Regions from separate parts of the Homo sapiens genome. Here region 2 is linked to region 1. Evidence: promoter capture Hi-C in 16 types of primary human blood cells and fetal thymus (Javierre and others, 2016). All regions are on one chromosome and are shown on one strand. The core of a region is centred on a gene start or on the middle of the fragment in contact, and the rest is flanking DNA. Distances in the headings are between cores, read along the strand shown.

Region 1 (3,882 bases), core at 517-3,016:
CTGTGGGCCAGGGGTCTGGGCACGGAAAGCTACCTGCATGCCTGCTGAGTGCCACAAGCCGGCCCCCAGAGCCTGGCCCCCACAGCCTCACTGGCCACCCCAACTGAACGCAAGGCTGTGGAAGGGTGTGGGGAAGTCCTCTGCCCAGCACACCAGCAGCAGTTCACACCTGGCCCCCTGCCCACAACCTCAAAGCCAAAGCCACAGCCCAGAATCCCAAGACAGCGTCAGAGCGCCTTGTTTGCTTCTGCCCCGTGTCTTCCCCCTGCAGCACTGGGACCCCAAAGTCCTAACACTCAGAAAAGATAGAAAGGCAAGGGCTTCTCCCCTGTCCCTCGCTAGGTGGACTGGGGACCCGCTCTGGCCTCAGCATATGCTGAGCTGAGGCGCAGGTCACACAAATGAAGTCTCAGGCAGGCCTGGAAACTCAGTTTGTGCAGGGCCTGGGGCCAGAGACAGGGTGACTGACCATGGCTTCTTCTGTTCCCAAAGGCTGTGGGGAGAGAAAGCCCTTTGTAAGGAGTGAGGGAGGATGGCCAGGGCTCCTTCCCTCTTAGAGGGAAACTTGGTTCATACACAAGCGCTTGGAGGGGATCAAGTCAGGGCCAGTTTGAGGGACACTTAAACGCGTGCCAAGGGGTCAAAGATTCCACAGCCTTGCGGCTCACTCTGCCAGAGTTTGGGTGGGGTCGATGACCATCTTTGCAAGGCCACACCTAATGCTGGGATCCTAAGGCACCTGAGGTTTCACCAGGCCCAGCACCAACGCTGGCTGGCGGCGCAAACCCCTGCCCCACCCCAAGCCCTGGGCCTCCTATGGCCGCATCTTCAGCATCTCTGCCAGGCAGCGCCACACGACTCCAGGGCTGCCGGGTGGGACGCCTATCACGGCGGCCCCTCGGGGGGAGCCACCCCAGAAACCACGGTTTTTAGGTGTTTAAAGACAGGGCGGCAAAAACGCACGAGGGAAAAGCAATCTTTTCAAAAGAGCCTCCGAATCCCTCGGCTGGCCAGGACGGCAGAGCTGGGGGAGGAACGCACGGACGCTGAGCGGGAAAAGGAAACCAGGACGGAGCCGTCTCCTGCCGAAACAGAACTCTCCGCACGAATCGCGGGCTTTCGGGGCTCCCTGACCCGTCCGCCAGGTCGGCCCCGAAACGGCTGTCCCGTTTGCTCCAGGACGCGGCTTTGGCGCAGGGCGCGGCCAGATTGAGACCTGCGGCTATGGCTAGGGTTCTGAGCACCGACCCCCGCGGCCCGGCCCGCGCTCCGCTCCCGCCCGAGACCCGCCCAGCCCCGGCCCGAGGCGCCCGGCCCGAGGCGTCCTGCCCTTCGCCCGCCGCCCGCCGCAGCCACTGCGCTCCCAGCCGAGGCCGGGTGGCCGGCGACCGCACAGCCCGCTGCCCACGGCAAACAGAAAGGCGCTTCTGAACGCGCCCGCTCCGCTGCTCGGCGCCAACTTCGCCCTGGCCCCTGCGGGAGCCGGCGGCCGGCAGAACTCACCTTTGCCTAGCAGCGGCAGCAGCAGCAGCAACAGCAGACGCAGCCCCGCGGCACCGGACGTCGCCTTCGCCATCGCCCGTGCGCGCTGGGGCCACGGCTGGAGGGACTGCGGCTAGGGCCGGCGGGTCTGGATGGCGGGTGCGGCGCTCAGTCTGGCCGCCCCATCCCCGCCCGGGGCGCGGCGGACGCGACGGACACTGGGGGCGCGACGCACGTTCCGGGGCACTCAGCGCTGCTGCGCGCCCTGCTTCGGTCGCGGGACTGAAGCGAGGTAAGCGCCGGCTGCGCCGGAGGAGCGGGTAGGGGCGGGGCGGGGCGGGGGCGGTCCAGGGGTGGGCCAGGCGGGGCCGGAGGCGGGTGGGGTGCGGGAAGGGGCGGGGCTCCAGTGCTTGCTCTGGCTGCGCGGGGTGCGGCCGGGGCGCGGCGCGTGTAGGAGCTCAGTGCGGGACGCGCGGCTTGGGCCGGGTGGGGCTTGGGGAGGAGCGGGGTGCGGGAGCGGGGTGCGGCCGAAAAGGGCCCGGCAGGAGCCGGGTGCGGACCCCGAGGTGCGCGGCGGGGATGGAACCCAGGAGCCCGGGTCCGCGCACCTACGCAGAGCCGCTCTTCCTACCCGGTGCGCGCCCGCTTGCAGTCCCTGCCTTTTGCCCTTTCCGCTGCACAGAGAGGGCAGGGATGCTACGCGGGATGCAGGTCTGGCCGACTGGCTCGGGGTGCGACCCCGCGGACTCAGAGAAGGGCGCCCCGCCTCCAGGCTCTCCGCGGAGCGCTTGCTGCGCCATTTCTCAGAGGCGAGAGGCGCAGTGGGAGCGCGGCCTCTGCTGGGGCCGGAGGCAGGAGGCGGGGAAGAGCTGAGCAGGGGAAGAGAGGCAGAATAGCCTTTTTCAGCATCCTGGGGTAGTAGAGAGGGTAGGGTCCTGGAAGGGCAGTTTGTGATTCCCCCCTCCAGCACTGGTCCAACCCTTGGAAACCGGAAACTGGCTCCGGCGTCCTTTCAGAGACCTGGTGCTGGTGGCCCTTGCATCCCTTACACAGGAGAACTCTCAGGAGATGGGCTGGCAGAGTCGGAGAGCGAGTAGCGAGGAGGAGGAAAGAATCCAATTTTCCCCCAAAGAAATGATGGAAATGATGCGCATAAACACATTTACCCCTAATAGGGAGCAGCAACTGGACCTGAGAAGGGGTTCTGGGTGAGGTTGGATGTGGGCTCAGTGGGGAAGTCCTCTGTTCTCGCCCCATCCCCGGCTGCTTTTTGAGGTCTGGCCTGCACTTAGGCGCAGAGGGATGGAAGAAGGGAAGCCCATGGGCCCTTGAGGAGGAAAAGCCAGGGAACCTGGGCCCAGGGCACCCTTGAGCCAGCCGCTCCCTTGCTTGCTGTGTGCAGAACCCCGCCCTCTTGCCTGGCTGAGCTCAGGGCTGAATAAGTGATCTGCACATCACTGCAGATATGAAGTCAAAGTGAAGTCACCCTCACAGGCAGGAGGGGGAGCTGCCAAGACAGAGGCTGGCTTGCACTCAGCCAACCGTGATGTCCAGACCTGGCTTGCTGAGGGGCAGGTGGCCGGGGCACAGGCCTGCCAGCCCAGGAGAGACACTGTGGGCCACTGGACTCCGGCTGCCTGCCACACCCTTCCAGTTTATGGAGCTAGAGTTGGCCACAAGGGGCTCCCTTGGGTTCAGACAGGTTCCATCTCTGGTGCCAGTGGCTACCTAGGCTACACACTCAGGCCTGTGCCCAGGGAAGGGACCTGATAGGTAGGGAGGGGCTGGGGGCATCTTTTGGCTACAGACAAGCTCCTGTGATTGCCTCCTAGGTGAATGAAGAGAGAAGTGGGTAGGCTTAAATAGCCCCACCCCTGCACCTCCCGGGGACCACCCTGGCCAGCCCTTGGCTGACATTGATGTCTGGCTGGGCTCTGTGTGGCCATCTTAAGGGGCCATCTGGGGCTGTGCTCCTGCCTAGCCTACCTTAGGCCTTTCCACGCTCTCGCTCCACCCTCACCCTTGGGGGTCCTGAGTGAACACCTGACACTATGAGAGGGTGTCATTTACTCCTTGGAAAAAGGTCTGGGGGGCCCTCACATGGGTGTACCCTGTACACATGCATACATGCATACACCTGTGTTCCCATACGTGGACACACACGCACACAGATGCATACCTCCCTGCTACGTGCACGCCCAGGGATCTGACCAAAGGGTCGCTCAGCAGAGGACAGTTGTGAGGCCCAGAGCCTGCTGGCCTCAGGGACTGCGGGGAAAGGAGATTCAGCCCTGCCTGGGTGTAGGCTCAGTATCCAGAACATCAGGCAGCAGGAAGGAGCTCCTTGCCCAGCAGAGGGGAAGCGAGGCCACCCCCTGAGGTCTCACAAGGGGAGGTGGG
Region 2 (3,882 bases), core at 556-3,055, 290 kb after region 1:
AAAGACCCTGAAAAAACTCTAACCATCAACTCTTAATTTTCATTTTTTAACTGCATCCAGTAAAACATCATATACATTTACAGGAGCATACAAGAAGTTCATTTTTACAGGCAAAAACTGATAAAATAAAATAAATTCCATTCTGTTTTTCTTGCTGTGTTCTAAATTTAAATAACATCAAAAGTCTACCCAGATGAATAAAAGTGCTCAAAAAGGGAAAATTCTGACTGCACAGACTCCATGATAACCATGATCCTGCTGTTCAGCTGCAGGCCCAATGTCTTTGCCTCTATCAAAACTTCCCGTATTCCCACTAGAGCTACAAACATCCTCAAACATAATGCAACAGAATATTCATAACAATAATTACTTCTAAATTAAGGTAAAAATAAAACAGTCAAGAAAATATGGGCTGGGCACAGTAGCTCTCGCCTGTAGTCCCAGCAACTTGGGAGGCCAAGGCAGGCGGATCCCTTGAGCCCAGGAGTTTTGAGACCAGCCTGGGCCATATGGGGAAACCCCATCTCTACAGAAAAAAAAAAAAAAGGAAAAAAAAGAAAAATTAGCCAGGCGTGGTGGCATACACTACTCAGGAGGCTAAGGTAGGAGGAATGCTTGAACCTGGGAGGTAGAGGCTGCAGTGAGCCGTAATCACACCACTGCACTCCAGCCTGTACCACAGAGTAAGACTCTGTCTCAAAAAAGGGAAAAGAAAATATGGATGCTCCAAAGATAAAGAAAAGCCTCAATCCAACTATATTATTGCAATAACAAGAGATTTCAGAGTGTACATTGCCATTCTACCACTGGAAGTTTGTTTCATTTTCCCTCAAACTCGGAAAGGTCACCATCTCCCAAAGCAGACAATTCTCACAGGAAAAAGAGAAAACTCGCACTTCCACCAGAATGTGGCTTCATAAGGCAAGCATATGCACCTGGCACATAGGAGGTGCGTGCTATCTGTTAAATGATGTGTTCACGGTGACTAGGCCTGCTAGGCCCTTCCAAGGAACATGTTTGGCAAAGCCAAAGAGCAGTCAGGATAAGACATAGTGAACATTATCATTTCTCATACAAAAAATGGAGGAGGAAACCAGGAAGAAAAGGAAAGCATCACCTTAAGAGGCTGGACCACACATCCTTCTACACGGAGGAAGAGGACTGTGGCTGGTGTCGCAATCGAGCAGCAAAGCTTGATTTTCCAGCCCGAGTGCTGGGTTCGAGTATCTTCCTGCCTTGGAACCTCCCAGAGTGCTGGGAGGAAATGTGAACATTATCACATCCTTATCTCTGGGAACTTACCCTTTTCTGAAGCTATAGCCAACTTAGTAATACTAAGTATAAGAGAAGTCCCATGATATGACAATATTTAACATGTTCCACTCAAGAAAACAACAAACGCATGCATGTCCCTCAGATGACAACAGCCACGCCAACTCTGTGTCTGTGGTGGCATCTCCTACCTGACACAATCGTCACAGGGCCTCTGATCTCAGTCAACTTCTGCCGGGTAAAGTTCCGAATGAGGCATTGTATCAAAGTGCTCTTTCCAACTTTTGGAGGTCCCATCACCACTACCACTATTGGTGGGGGCTCTAGTGGAGTTCGATCAACCACTGGAATATGATGCTTTTTTGTCTTCAAATCCTGAGTCCTATTCATTAAAAAATAAACAAATAAATAAATAGTAAACTCATTTTCAAAATAGAGTAAAAGGTATCAACCTTATAAGTAGACTTTTTTGGTACACTTATAGCTATGAGTACTTTAGCACATTTTATAGAGAGTACAACAGACAATATATAAATATAATTAACTTGTCAATTATTAACTTGCTAACTTCTGGCCCCATCCAAATAATTGCTGTTCAATAAAGATGTAACAAGATGACTTCAATACTATAGAGAGCGAAAATTAAACACTCCTTAAATCTGACTGTTTTAAGAGTGATTTTAATAGTTTTTTAAAAAACCAAAAGGTAAATAGCGAGGCAGTACATCATAGCAGATAAGAGCAGAGGCGCTGGAGTTACATTTAGCTCTCCTACTTACTGGTTATATGATTGGAGGTAACTTGTTTTCTTGATCTCAGTTTTCTTACCCATAAAATGAGGGCAAGAATGATTCCTACTCTGGTAAGGCTGCTGGAAGGATTTAGTTGAATAATGTTTAAAGTACACTGCTAGGCATATCACAAGGGCTCACTAAATAAAGCTATGTTAGTATTAAATATTGTAATTTTTGTATTTTATATTACAACTATGTAAAACATACCTGGGGGGAAAAAGCACACTTATCACCATAGAAACAGTTTAAAATTTAGGAACAAACAAAGTCTATAAATTCTTGTATCCTGGGCAATAAACACTAACCAGTATGCAGATGCTGGAGGCAAGGCAGCTTCTATGGGAAAAGCTTCTCACGTTTTAGTGAAAGCCACACACCATGAATCTCCATGTCCTTTGGAGCTGGACTAGACTCGTGAATCCAAATGTCACCTGTGAGAGGCTCCTACTATTTAAAAAAAGAATCAATGGAAGAATGACCAGACCGTAGCCTAACATACCTGTGAAAGGATCGAGCCATCCGCACAGCAGACTGAACTGCAAAAGCTTTGGGATTTCTCTTCCGGGCATCTTCTTCGTCTCCTAGCTGGAGATCCTGCAGAAGCCGCTTCTTTTTCTTTGCAGCTTTGGGTCCACTGTTTTTCTTTCTGTGTTTCTTCTGGTCCTTAGCCTCCATAGTGGCTATTTACCAATAACAAGTAACTCTAACCTACAAGGAAGAAGGTTGGGGTAAGGAGATGGGAGAAGCATTTTACAATCCAGGCAATACCCAGGGAAAAACAGTAAATTTCATTTATTTCTTTATGAAGAGATGATGTATTTGTTCACTGAACAAGGGTAGAAACTGCTTAACCATCCCCAATTTCATTTCTCTCTGTTATGCTATAAATTAGATGAGTTACCTCTCTTAAGATTACATTTTATGGTTAAGTTACTTTTTATTCATCTTAAGTGTCAACATCAGCAGTATCTATTTCTGCAAGGATAGAAATATACTATATCTGTACTTTTCAGCCATTTAGCCATTAGCCACATGTGGTTACTTACAATATACTTAGGGAAACTGAAAAAATGAGTTTTTAATTAATTTCATTCTAACTCCAAATAGTCACATGTGGCTACCATACTGGACAGCTCAGACCCAGGTATCAACTGGACTGATGAAGTGGTTTCCTAACTTAAACTAAAACTTAAATTTTAATAAAAAAATGTGAAACGTTTTTATGAACCTCCAATATGATCGCAGTATTACTTTTAGTACCTGTTGACTCTGTAAAACTCCTAAATTACAACTTATCTACATACATTTGAAAAATAGAAATAGCTGTACGTGTGAGATAGGACTGGTTCTAGATGACACCTGGAGACCCCATGAACTTACAGAGACCCTTCCAGTGATTTCTGAGTTACCTGGGAATCTGTGGCTAATAAATTGGCAATCACTGAATTAGTGAGTTATTTTAGGAAATCGGGCTGCATAAAATCTGACAGCTTGATTAAAAAAAAAAAGCGGAGCAGGATGCCATTTCATTCAATTAAGGTACTGTATTCATTCCGTTGAATAAATATTTGTGTCTGTCTACGATGTGCTAGGCACTGTGCCAGTAAGTGGATACAGCTATTATCTGACTTGCAGAGGAAATCCAAACTATTATCTTCCGCGCCACGCAATAAGGGCGACATTGGAAGGCTGCACAGGGTGCTACTGGAGCACGGAGGTGAGTCAGAGGCTTCCCACAGACACACACCAGCGGAAACAAAGTCTTTATGTATTACCATAATGTCAAGAACACTGGCCAGGAGTTAGGAGAGCTGGG

What was found. The method cuts DNA at HindIII sites, captures the fragments that hold promoters and counts their contacts. A CHiCAGO score of 5 or more calls a contact.
Region 2: a fragment that was not itself captured here is called in contact with the fragment with the promoter of RET in region 1 in 1 of 17 cell types (M1 macrophages); the score reaches 6.0 in M1 macrophages.

What each region holds. Positions count from the first base shown.
Region 1 is chr10:43,074,953-43,078,834 of GRCh38, reverse strand. RET (ret proto-oncogene) reads right to left here and starts at 1,766. Exons shown (of 20, transcript NM_020975.6): 1 at 1,504-1,766. The coding sequence starts at 1,576. RefSeq lists enhancers at 421-1,411, 1,720-2,577, 2,443-2,709 and promoters at 1,544-1,842, 1,544-2,227. The HindIII fragment of the contact is 20,268 bases long and covers 1-3,882 here.
Region 2 is chr10:42,783,254-42,787,135 of GRCh38, reverse strand. It overlaps BMS1 (BMS1 ribosome biogenesis factor), which reads right to left. Exons shown (of 23, transcript NM_014753.4): 2 at 2,566-2,774; 3 at 1,464-1,654. The coding sequence starts at 2,741. Among named protein-coding and RNA genes, the nearest start is that of BMS1, 2.4 kb to the right of the region's middle. The HindIII fragment of the contact is 1,222 bases long and covers 1,195-2,416 here.